Regions from separate parts of the Homo sapiens genome. Here regions 1 and 3 are each linked to region 2. Evidence: promoter capture Hi-C in 16 types of primary human blood cells and fetal thymus (Javierre and others, 2016). All regions are on one chromosome and are shown on one strand. Each heading gives the region's core, a stretch centred on a gene start or on the middle of the fragment in contact. The rest is flanking DNA. Distances are from core to core; before and after follow the strand shown.

Region 1 (3,903 bases), core at 174-2,673, 500 kb after region 2:
GGCATGCACCACGCCTGGCTAACTTTTGTATTTTTGGTAGAAACGGGGTTTCACCATGTTGTCCAGGCTGTTCTCAAACTCATGGCCTCAAGTAATCCTCTTGTCCCAGCCTCCCAAAGTCCTGGGATTACAGGTCTGAGACATCACTCCTGCCCTCTTAGGGGCATTTTAACAGTTTTCTGCTGGGGGATGTGAATGCCCTTGACTACTCACCATTTGCTTCATCGTCATAGAAGGTCCTCACCATTGACAAAAGCCTCACTTGATCCTATAGCACCTTCCCAGAACTGCTCTTTCTGATACCCTGGCCTTAGGAGATAAATGTCCTTCCCAAGACAGCGGGCAGAACAGCCAGAGTACTTACAATAACCTTGGACTGCTGGGGACCAACCTTAAGCCACTCACCTGTATTTATAATCTCTGAAGCACATTTGATGAGCTTTGAGCTTAGAAATGAGAAGCTTGAGAATTTTCAGGAAGATGAAGAAATTGACCTTGAAAAAAAGAGCAGAATTGGGTAAGTAAGTGACGAATTCCACATAGCTGTGAACTTCAAGGTCAGGCTGGGCTCGGCCATCAGTTCCATCAGTTCAATGTAAACCAGGGGCAATTCAGCAGTTAGCTGGCCAGGTAGTAAATGCTTAGCTGTGATCTCCACTGTCCTAAAGGCCATCTGAATCTCCACTGTCCCAAAGGCCATCTGAATCTCCAAAGTCCCAAAGGTCATCTGAACTGAAAGTCTGGAAGGAATTTCAGAAAGTGATTTAGTTTATTATTCTGCCTTAAGGAGGCCCATCATTAAGGCCATCTAGAAAGGCAGGTGGACGTTCACATTATTATTATTACTATTATTGTTATTATTATTAACTACCACGTATTGAGTACTTATCACTTAGTACTTAGCACCATGTCAGGCTTTGGGCTAAGAATGGTCCAGGCATTCTTGTATCTAGTTTTTACAACATCCCCTTAAGGTAGCCACAACTATTTTTATCCTCATAAAACAATGAGAAAACAGGCACAGAGAAGTAAGTGTAATTCCCAGGTTGCATGGCTAGTCAGTGATTAAGCCTGTAATTAAACCCAGATTCATGGGATTATAACCCTCCCTTCACTTAAACAGAACGCTATTCTGCCTCTCTTCTGTAAAGAACTCCATCCCTATTGGTGTCTAACTTGAGATCCTGTTGCTGCTATGGAATTCATAGACAGAATATGCTCTCTACTCCCTAGAATACATTCCACGACTGTCATGGACTGGGAAAATCCAGCCCTCCATTGTCAGCCTTTAAAGAAATTTAAAAATATGCCTGCAAATTCCTTGGCCCTTCTGCCTTCAAAAGTGGAGGCTAATCCCCCTTATTCCCCTTGTGAGGTGAGCTAGATTTAGTTACTTGCACTTAACGAAAAGAATATGGTGTCATAGAAGTGGTGCTATGTGACTTCTGGGCTAGGTCCTCAAAAGGATGGCTGGCTTCCACCCAGCTCTCTCTTTCTCTCTCTCTCTCTCTTAGGTTTCTCACTCCAGGGGAAGTCAGCCACCATTTTGTGAAGACACTCAAGCAGCCTGTTGGGAGATCCACGTGGGGTAACTGAGTTCTCAGGCCCAAAACCAGCACCACCCACCACCAGCTACGTGTGTGCGCCACCTTGGGAGCTGATCCTCCAGCCCCAGCCAAGCCTTCAGATGGCTGCGGCCCTGGCTGCCGTCTTGGCTGCAGCCTCGGGAGAGATCAAGAGCCCCCTGGAAGTGGTGAAAAGCAGGTGGCTGGGTTTGGGTAGAGCTTGGAGAATGAGAACAGGGTTTGTGAGAAGTGAGACTGGGCAGGAGAGGGGGGTCCGTTTCTGCAGGGTCTTTCACAGCCGTGGTAGGTAAGGAGTTTGGGTTTTCTTCTGAAAGCAATGAAGAGCCAGTGATAGATTTTAAGCACGCAAGTGACCTGATCAGATTTGTACTTCTGCATTTCAGAAAGATAATTTCAGCAGCAGTGTGGAGAATGGATTGGGTGAGGGTAAGGCTGGAGGAGGGGAGATCAGTTGGGAAGTAGTTTCAGAGTTCCTGGGGGACGGTGATGGAGAAAAGAAATCAGCAGCAGTTCTGGTGCTTCCATGATGGAGAGGAAGGGATCAATTTGAAATGATGAAGAAGTATGAGTCAAATGATCTTTGTTATTGACTGGATGTGAGGGCCTGAAGCCAGCAGGAATGATGGAGGTTCCTAGCCAAAGAATATTTAGGAACAGAAAGTTTAAATACAAGGTAAATGTAATCAAGTAATGTATTTCTTTTAATGGGATATCTGCCTCTCATCATAAAGAGAAAACGTTGTGTCCTTGGCTTAGTGATTTATTGAACATAGGCATTTTTCTTACAAAGCAAGCTTAACAGCAGAAAGGCATTTATTTCAGCAAATTAATTTCAATCAGGACTGTCTCCTAGGCAATGAAAGGTTATAATGGGAAGCATGTTGATTCACTGTTCTCTGTGTCTTCCAGAGACCAGACATGAGAAAATGGGCATCAACCCATAGAACGTACGAAGGAGGCACTTCCTCACTGCCACAGGATGAAACCCTAGCTGGGGGTACCATGAAGCCTCTGCTCATCTGGGCTTCCAAGAAGACAAGAGTCAGCAGGTACTTTTGGATGGTGCTGTTCTTCATTTTCACACAAGCAGGAAAGGGGCTGAGTGAGGACATTTTCCAAGAACCCAGCCAACTCCTCCAGGATTTTGTGACCAGATGGGGGTGGGTGCTAAGGACCCCAAATATATAAGGATCTATCCCAGATGCATTCTCAGATGTGACATTCTTGGTGACACTTTCTTGTTACCCCAGCTTCTGTGCACAGATCTGGGCCTACAAGTTGGCAGAGGTGATTGCCGGTATAGCGGGAGCTCAGGGGTAGGCCTCATCTACCCCTAAACTCTTCCATCTACCGCCAAACCCCTCCTCCTCTGGCCTGCTGTGTGGACTAAAATGCTAATCCTGTAGAGCTACTCTTGTGAGTCAAAACACTCTTTCCCCAAGAGCCCTGCTGAAAGGCACACAACCCACTGAAGCTAAGGAATCACTGGGAGAGGAGGAAGGAAGCCCTTTCTCCTTTCATTCATTCATTCATTTTTGCAACAATGAAGACTTCAGTAAGTTACCTAGGCTCTGGCTTATTATCACCATTTAAAGCAGAAGATGGGGTGTAGCAAAGCTAAGTTTTGATGGGGTGGGAAAACCCAGAGTACAGGGAGAGTCACACTTTAAGTCTTTAGAAGAGGAGAGCACAGGAGTGAGGAAATGTCTTGGGAAGCCTGAAGCCACAGAAAGCCCCTGGGTTCCTGGTGGGGCAGAGGACCTAAAGAGGGACAAGGCCAGTGAAGACAAATTTTACCAGTGCATCAACTTTGCCAAGTTCTGAGGCTATCACGGAAGATTCAACAATAGCAAATGCAGGCTTTTGACTTTATGATTTCATAAAGTCAACAGATGGTTCATTCAATTTGTTAGCTCAAAACAGCCATTTCACCGGGTCTGTTAACTGCAGGGTGCAGGGTATGGATAGAATGACCTTGCATGATGTAATTATTGTCTAAGGCTGTCCTTGAGCAGGACTAATCAAGACTTTACCAATATTCTACTGAGGGCTGGGGAGACTAGGCTGTAAGAATATGCCAGTTTCCGAGATGATTCAACTCTAAATGTACATTTCAGATGACAGGTGAAGTAGTGAAGTCTTATACAAAGAAAGAGGTGGGAATTCTACAATTTCTGCCTGGCAAGAGACCCAAAGGGCATCTGGATTCTTCAGGTTGCCACATTATGGTCATTTCTGAAACACAGGCAACCTTGTACCAACAAAGCAGTAAATGAAGTTTGCTGACGCATCTGGATTTCCAGCATGTTGTACACTC
Region 2 (4,528 bases), core at 1,095-3,594:
CCTATGAGTCATCTTGATTCATTTATTCACCAGGACGAACATTTACTGAGCATCTGCTACATGCAAAAGGCTGCACCTCAAATAAAAGCAACTGTGCTTAGGGCTGATCACTCTCGGTTGCTTTCTTCTGGGCCAGAACTTTGCTATGGATTATGTCCTTCAGCCTTTCCTCTCTTGTTTTCTGGAACAGGAAATAAATAAGTTTGTGTTCCAACATCAAATCACCTAGGGAAGTTCCAGGTCTAAAAAAAAAGTATTCATATTTCTTTACTGAAGGGCTTCTCACATCCCTTAATATGCTAATATTTATGATGAATCTCTAACAGGAGGGAATAGAGTTTAACACATTTCTTAAGCTCATTTAACCACAGGACCATTTATTTCGAAGCGACCCTCCCAATCTGCATTCTGTCAAATCTACTTTAGAAAATACTTTGTGGAAGCCAGGCTCATGCCTGTAATCCCAGCACTTTGGGAGGCCAAGGCAGGCGGATCACCTGAGGTCGGGAGTTCGAGACCAGCCTGACCAACATGGTGAAACCCCGTCTCTATTAAAAATACAAAATTAGCTGGGCCTGGTGGCACATGCCTGTAATCCCAGCTACTCGGGAGGCTGAGGCAGGAAAATCGCTTGAACCCACAAGGCGGAGGTTGTGGTGGGCGGAGGTCGCGCCATTGCAATCCAGCCTGGGCAACAAGAGCAAAACTCTGTCTCAAAAAAAAAAAAGAAAGAAAGAGAAAGAAAGAGAGAGAAAGAAAGAAAGGAACGAAAGAAGGAAGGAAGGAAGGAGGGAGGGAGGGAGGGAAGGAAGGAAGGAAGGAAGGAAGGAAGGAAGGAAGGAAGGAAGGAAGGAAGAGAAAATACTTTGTGGAAGTCCTATCTCTACCTGCTCCTCCTCTGGTCTAAAATTCACTTTGATTAATGCAAACTATCTTTTGGAAATGCCCTACCTACATGAAATTCTACCCACTGGAGACTGATTAAGGAAACTTTGATTCAACAAACACTGATTATATACAATTTAAACAGATCACACTGTATTGCAGTAAATGGCTCTAACTTCTACATATACAGTTGTTCCTACATAGTCAAACATCACTTATATTTTAGCAAAAAATAAAAAAACTCCTAAGTAACTATAATTGTCACAAAGTCCACGTATTTTCATTAGAACCCACTAGAGCTGCACTCAGAACTTATTTACTCTTACTTTAGCCTGATCTTAATTTTGTAATCTCTTTCCCAATCAATAATACAAAATCAGGCTAGTAAAGACAAACTTACCACAGAAAGAAATTATACCTGAGAGGCTGGCCATGAAGGCAAAGACAGAAAATCTAAAAAGTAAGGCCAAGTGTGGTGGCTCACACTTGTAATCCCAGCATTTTGGGAGGCCGAGGCGGGAGGATCACTTGAGGTCAGGAGTTCGAAACCACCCTGGCCAACATGGTGAAACCCTGTCTCTACTAAAAATATAAAAATTAGCTGGGCGATTATAGCACATGCCTATATATAACACATGGGATTATAGCACATGCCTATAATCCCAACTACTTGGGAGGCTGAGACAAGAGAATTGCTTGAACCTGGGAAATGGAGTTTGCAGCGAACCAAGATCACGCCACTGCACTCCAGCCTAGAGGAGAGAGCAAGACTCTGTTTCGATAATAATAATAATAATAAATAAAAGTATACACCAAAATTCACAGCAGGAACAATTAGTGCAGGCATGATCCACTAAGAACCAGATCCTTGATGACTTTATTATATCATCTCCCAGACCCCCAGAGTGATCAAGAAAAACTTAAATTCTATTCAAGATAGTAGGTTACACAGAGCAGGATAATGTAAAATACATTTTGGAAAGCTTTTCTTCCAGTAGATTTTTAAACAAACAAATACATAAATAAGACTGGATGTGTTAAAAGGTCAACCTTAAATTTCCAGAGATTTCTGAGATGAGAAGCACACCATCCCATACCAATGCTGGGTAAATGAGGTGTAGTTACTGTCCACACTACTGATCACCCATTGCTTGACAAAGCATCCTGTGGTTCTGCCCTTCAGTGACCTTCTTAGCACACTCTGCTCCAGTTCCACTCAGCCCCTAGGACTCTCTAAGTCTCAAAGATCTGTGTCCAACGTCAAAATCCCTATGCAGCTGACTTGGCATTATGCAGCCTCCACTGGTCATTTATCCAAGTAACTTAACAAGAGTGAGAGATCAGGGCTACGACGCATTTACATCTAACAAGTAAATGGTGCTCCCCCAAATATAGCCAAGTTAGAGTGCTGGGCTGGCAGATTTGGGAGTATAAAGAGAGCTGGGGGGTCACACTCCTGAAATTGCTGTGACCGCAGCATCTCTAGGTAAGTGCTCACAAGTGCTCACTTTTTTGCTCCACGTAGCTATAGTTGCACCTGATCAGGTTACCAGTCAAGGGGGGAAGACAATAAAGTAGCCTTTACGGAGGGCCTACTAAGTGCAAGGTCTTGTGTTGAGGGCAAGGTTGGAGACAAGATGGAAAGACAAGACAACTGCCTTTCAAGAAACTTTTACAAGGGGTGAAAAGACAAGAATATAAGCAATTATAAGACAAAAAATATTCACCTGCAGAACAAAACTGAGTATAATGCATGATTCCTCCTCTGATTATTTAGGTCAATGTTATACTGTTCAGTTAGCAAATTAACTTGGTAACTTGTGGTATCTCTTCTGTGATTGCTTAAGCTATTATTTGAAATTTTTATGTTTATTTAATTTGTTTCCCATGTCAGGATTTCTGAAAAATGGTTGTGGGAGGAAATAATCCCAAGCATCTTACCCATCTTACAAAGTGTCATAGTCTGATATGAATTGACTGGTTTGCAGACTGTTCTCACATGGCATATTTTATGGACTTGGGACTGGACTGTGTCTGACAGTGCAATAGCATCCCTCAGAGATTTGTGATACTTTGAATTCAGGCCACCATCTCTACGGAGAACTGTCTGTTATAGACTCATAGGGCTGAAAGGAATCTTGGAGATTTTCTGGTGCATCTGATTCATTTTACGGAAGGAAACAGAAACCCAAAGAAATCATACCAGCTACTTAACAGAACTGATATTAGAATTTCTGTAGCTCTGCCTCCATATTTTTTTAAATTGAGGATTCAGAATATAGTATGTAATACTTTAATTTTTTAAGAAATTGTGAGAATTTTAGGATATAACTGGAGATTATTTAAGATGCATTAAAGACGGAGAAGGAAGGAGGCAACAAGGATAGTAAACCAAATCCTAAGTGTCTGTTCCTGCCTAAATAGGGCTTCATGAAATATTCCCCTGGCTCCATAAAAGCACTGAATGGTAATTGGGAAGTTTGCTTAGATTACATTTGATATTGAAAATTTTTCAGACACTCATGCCTCCTTGAGATAGCCACGTAGTTTATAAACTCCTAGAGCTGAGATTCCTTAGTCCCAGGTGACTTTTCAGCTGCCCTACCTTCATCATCTGCAGGAGGAATTTAGAGCATTGAAGAGAATAAAGAAGTCTTTGTCCACAATTTATAACTTTTCTCCTATTGCCAAAAAAAGGTGACTGCCCCTAAGCATCCAAGCTGCAATCTGGAGCATTCCCCTCCCTACTTTCTTTCTTCCCTGACCCCTCACAGCCCCCCAGTCAGAAGCGGTTTCTCTAAGTTCCCATAGTACTTTGTTTAGACTCCTTAAAAATTTGTCTTAATCCTGTTCAAAGACTTACTTGAGCATTCTCTTATCCCTTACTAACTTTTGCATTCCTATAGGGCAGATACTGTACTTTCCTCTTCATACCCCCTTAAGGAGCTGACACAGTACATTGTACACACAGAAGTTTCTCAAGAGAGTATTAATTAAATGTTGTAATTAACCAACTATTTAAAGAATAATGATTTTAATCAAAAGTAAAAATTCAAAACAGCAAATTTATTTCATTCCACACCATCTACTGTGTATCTATTTAAGGTAGATAAACTGGAACAAACATGGTTTCTATATTTATTTAAACTCTTTGTAGCTCATTTGGGTTTTTTTGGTTTGTTTTTTTTTCTCAAATTATCCCCAGGAAGACGCTTTATTCCTGAAGGACACTGACTGTCACTTGGGAACCAAGAAGGTAAGGGTTATTTTCAGCTTGATCATGAATGCAATCATTGAAATTAGCAAACATCATTTTACACGTTCTCATTCTTGCCACACTCATAAGAAGACGAAATTGATGAGTTTGAAACCAATAACTTAACTATTCTTAAAGGTAGATTTTAAAATATATACAGGTTTTACCAAAGGAAGAATGGCTTCTCCTATTTGCTCATTACACTGAAATGTACGAAATATAATGCAGAATTTTGACATACAAGCTCCAAGTCAATACACAGTACTTAGTTGGCACAGAACATGATGTTCATAGGGTCCAAATGCAGTCTTCACACAAAGGCTAACTTTGCTGCTCCTTGAGCAGAGTCTGCACCCATGAATCCACACAGCTGCACCTTCCCTCACG
Region 3 (4,425 bases), core at 349-2,848, 440 kb after region 2:
GAGCATTCAGAACCTGTCTGTAGGTATCCACTCCGATATCTGCACACAGACATTCACACACATCTGTAGCTGAAACAAACGTTTCATAAAACAGTATTTATCCTCCTACTTAAAATGTACTCTGGTATTTTCTGTTCAAGTCTGGTCTGTTCTCACCAAAAAGCTGGTCCTGGCCCATTAAATCGATTTCACAACTCTCGGCCGCACACCGTCTGAAAAATATCAGACTAGACAGTGTCTGAAATTCCTACCAACTTGGAACTTCTCTTATTCTCTTCTGATGTGTGAGATGAAAAGGAAGCAAAGAGAGCGAGAGTTTTGGAAAGAAAAACTGATGGGCCATGACAGGCCGGCCTGAGTCTGTGAGGACACTTTGAGGAAGGACTTCTGATTCCTGGTTCAACAGAGATGCTTAAAAGTTAAGAATGGGTACTAAAGATACCAGCCTAACCATTTTAAAGGAAAAAAAAAACTGTCTTTTAAAAGTACTTAATATCGTCGGGCACAGTGGCTCACACCTGTAATCCCAGCACTTTGGGAGGCCGAGGCGGGCGGATCATGAGGTCAGGAGATCAAGACCATCCTGGCTAACATGGTGAAACCCCGTCTCTACTAAAAATACAAAAAAAAATTAGCCAGGTTTGGTGGCGGGTGCCTGTAATCCCAGCTACTTGGGAGGCTGAGGCAGGAGAACGGCTTGAACCTGGGAGGTGGAGCTTGCAGTGAGCCAAGATTGCGCCATTGCACTCCAGCCTGGGAGACAGAGTGAGACTCCGTCTCAAAAAAATAAATAAATAAATAAAATACTTGATGTCTGTAGCGAGATGGAGATGCCAGGCATCCTCATCTGTGGAATCAAATCACTTGTGATAGTTAGCAGCGTCACGCTTCCAGAATGTCATTTGAATTTGGGGAAAGCTTCCTGGCATATTGGCAGGTTCATGGGCTTTTCCCCAGACCACAGAACCTGGGGCTGGGGTCCAGGAAACCTTAATGTTGAAAACTCTTCAGGTCATTCCTGGGCGTATTAAAGCCTGAAAGTCACTTGCTTTCCATGTCCTTAGAGACCCCGGAGTTTCTGAGTCAGCAGGCTGAGCTAACTCTCCCAGATTCCCGGAGTCGTACAGCTGCTCCTACTCAGCAAATGCCAAACCTATATACGTGGGAAAGGGGTTTATTTATTCTCGTAAGCTCTCAAGATTTTTGTAGCATCCTGCAAACTGCCGCCAGGTGGGGATGTTTTCCTATACAGGGAAGGTTCCAGGGGCTCAAAAAAAATAGTAGGACATATTTACAACTAACACGAGGAGGAGAGAGGGGTGTTTGGATGGCCAGTTCTCTGTTAGTCTGTGACGGTCATCCAGCGACAAAGCTGTCTTCTTGTCACCCAGGGGATTGAGCTCTGAAGAGTTTGTCATTCTCTCTACAAACACAGAAGGGGCACCCACCCAGCCCCAGCCCAGGTCAGACACTGGGCACAGCAGTGCTCAACCCAGATGGGGCCCCTGCCCGCTTGGAGCTCCCAGCCCCGTGTAAGTCAGTTGCTTAGAATAGGGACACCTAAGTCCTGGTTGTATCCAGAGAAAAAGATATTGTACAGCAAAAACCTGAGGGAGAGGAGAGAAGTCACAGAACCCTCGTTGGGATATCATCTGTCCAGGGAAGTTGAGCTGTGCTCCCTAGAGACACCTCTAAGACCGGTGGAGGCAGATTTGCGGTGGTGGGGTGGTCATAGGTTGAAGAGAGTTGCCTGATTCCAGGCAGTGGGGTGGGAGGGGTGCACAGGGCTAGGGTGCCACCTGGCTTTGACCACAGCAGGTCCCGTTGATCTGTTTTCTTATAAATGTTATGGGCTGGGCACGGTGGCTCACGCCTGTAATCCCAGCACTTTGGGAGGCCGAGGCGGGCGGATCACGAGGTCAGGAGATCGAGACCATCCTGACTAACACGGTGAAACCCCATCTCTACTAAAAATACAAAAAAAAAAAAAAAATTAGCCGGGCGTGGTGGCAGGTGCCTGTAGTCCCAGCTACTCGGGAGGCTGAGACAGGAGAATGGCGTGAACCTGGAAGGCGAGGCTTGCAGTGAGCCGAGATCGCGTCGCTGCACTCCAGCCTGGGCGACAGAGCGAGACTCTGTCTCAAAAAAATAAATAAATAAATAAAAAATAAATAAATGTTATGCTCACAAACAAAAGGAACAAATTTTAAGGAAAAGTTCTTTTAAAGGGGGGTGGGATGGGAAAGAGGGAAGGAATAAAAGAGAAGAAAAAAGCTTAAAACCCTGATGCCACCCAGCTCTTCTGACAGCATAAACCCTTTTCTCTGGCCCCTGGGATACAGGGCGGTTCCCTTTGCCTGTGCTCCAGGCAGCCCAGCAAGCTGAGAATGTCTTTATGAGCGCAATGCGGGACAGTTGCCCTTGTGAGTTTCCAGCAGGTCTCCAACAGTTCCCACCATCAGTTCCTCGAGGTTTGGACCCTGTCTAGCTCACCTTTGTATTCTCAGCACCTGCCATGGAGTAGATGTTCGATAAATAGGACTGACCTGAGACCTTCTAATTGAATGGCATTCATTCGACTGTTCTTTACTGAAGCCGCGTACCCCAGTCACTGTGCTGAGTGCTTGGAGACACAGACGCTGATGTGGTTTCTGTCCCCAGAAAGCTCTCAGTTCGGAAAATAAGGGAGAGAGACATAAGAACAAAGCCGTGCAAGAAGCTGTGGGATAAAATAAGTGTGTGAGGTCATTGATTATTATTGTTTTTTGTTTGTTTGTTTTGTTTTTTTTTTTTGAGACCAAGTCTCACTCTGTCACCCAGGCTGAAGTGCAGTGGCACAATCTCGGCTCACTGCAACCTCCCAGGTTCAAGTGATTTCCTGCCTCAGCCTCCTGAGTAGCTGGGATTACAGGCACCTGCCACCACTCCCAGCTAATTTGTGTGTGTGTGTGTGTGTGTGTGTGTGTGTGTGTGTGTGTGTGTATGTAGTAGAGATGGGGTTTCACCATGTTGGCCAGGCTGGTCTCGAACTCCTGACCTCAGGTGATCAACCTGCCTTGGCCTCCCAAAGTGCTGGGATTACAGGCATGAGCCACCGTGCCCAGCCCATTGATTATTAACTTGATTTAGCCATTCCACAATATATACATATTTCAAAACAGCATATTATAAACCATAAATAGTAAAAAATTCTAAAAATTTAAAAGCTGCAGAAGCTCAGAAAAAAAGTAGTTAACAGATGGGGAAATCAGAAGGCTCTAGTTGCTAACCACTTATCCTGTAGACGTGTGTGGGGGCCTCCTGAGCTAAGGTGACCTGCCTAAGCTGAGACCTGATAGGCAGCCACGTGTCAGGGGGTGTCTCTCACCTTCCTGCCAGGTCGCTACCCCAGACTCATCCTCACTTGCCTGGGGAAGTGGGGGTGCCCCTCCCATCCCTCCTCCCTGCACTGGCTTACAGCTGATGCCCTGGGTCCTGAGTGTGCGTCTCTACTCTCCCAACAGCTTCACAGCGAGGTGGAGAAGCCCCTGATGAACTTCCGTGAGAACTTCAAGAAAGACATGAAGAAGTGCGACCACCACATTGCCGACCTTCGCAAGCAGCTCGCCAGCCGCTATGCCTCGGTGGAGAAGGTGAGAGGCCCAGGACGCTGGGCCAGGGCAGGTGCATGGGGGACTGCCTGGAAGAAGGGGGACTGGGAAGCCAGCAGTGGCTCCATACGCCAAGGCTGAGTCTTTGTCCCCAGGTAGGGGAATAGGGGGATGTCCAAGCCTCGTGCCTACGCCAGAGCACCCCACCCATCCAAGGGCAGATAGGAGCTGCCTCCCTGTGGTGCTGGAATGACCACCCAGAGGGCCAGGGGTGCGAGGAGAGGCTGCAGCTGCAGTGGGCAGTCGAGTGGCTGTTGGCGACCAGTTAAACCCCGAGCCTAGCAGTGCTGCTGCTGGTTCACGTGGGGCCCCGTGTTTAAGCCTCACCTGGCTGAGTCGTCCTGACTCAGTCACCGCCTCCCTGCTCTCCTTCCTGCTCAGGGATGAGGCTGAGTCCTGGGTGGTCTCACCTCCAGGGAACTGATGTTCAGCCTTAGAGGGAAGAGAGTGTGCCCCAGGGACTGATTCCCAGTCCCCAGTGCCTTAGAGAGGAGAAGGGGGCTCAAACTGCTGGGACACCCTGGGCCCAGCCAACTGCCGCCACCCAAGGACCACAGAGATGCCAGTGGTGGCCTGGAGGAAAGGCAGTACAGTGAGGGGAACAAGAGGGCCGAGGCTTGTCCAGCTCCAGAACGGGAGGGCTGTTGCTACATCCTATTAAGTGCTGCAGGGAGGTGACACAGATGGCCTTTGTGGTCCCTTCCAAGCAGAGGGGCTGTGACTTTAGGACTGCCTAGGTCCCCAGTCTTTGTACAGGCTCCATCGGGAAAAAAAC

The links. Contacts are between HindIII fragments. The CHiCAGO score rates a contact against its expected background, and 5 or more counts as called.
Region 1: a contact is called between a fragment that was not itself captured here and the fragment with the promoter of MYH13 in region 2, in 1 of 17 cell types (neutrophils). The highest score is 5.0, in neutrophils.
Region 3: a fragment that was not itself captured here is called in contact with the fragment with the promoter of MYH13 in region 2 in 1 of 17 cell types (monocytes); the score reaches 5.4 in monocytes.

The regions. Positions count from the first base shown.
Region 1 is chr17:9,867,338-9,871,240 of GRCh38, reverse strand. GLP2R (glucagon like peptide 2 receptor) reads right to left here. Exons shown (of 13, transcript NM_004246.3): 10 at 406-494. Among named protein-coding and RNA genes, the nearest start is that of RCVRN, 36 kb to the left of the region's middle. The HindIII fragment of the contact is 1,919 bases long and covers 464-2,382 here.
Region 2 is chr17:10,370,822-10,375,349 of GRCh38, reverse strand. MYH13 (myosin heavy chain 13) reads left to right here and starts at 2,344. Exons shown (of 41, transcript NM_003802.3): 1 at 2,344-2,371; 2 at 4,091-4,141. The HindIII fragment of the contact is 11,420 bases long and covers 1,871-4,528 here.
Region 3 is chr17:9,925,848-9,930,272 of GRCh38, reverse strand. It overlaps GAS7 (growth arrest specific 7), which reads left to right. Exons shown (of 14, transcript NM_201433.2): 10 at 3,504-3,632. Among named protein-coding and RNA genes, the nearest start is that of RCVRN, 23 kb to the right of the region's middle. RefSeq lists an enhancer at 4,290-4,425. The HindIII fragment of the contact is 1,356 bases long and covers 921-2,276 here.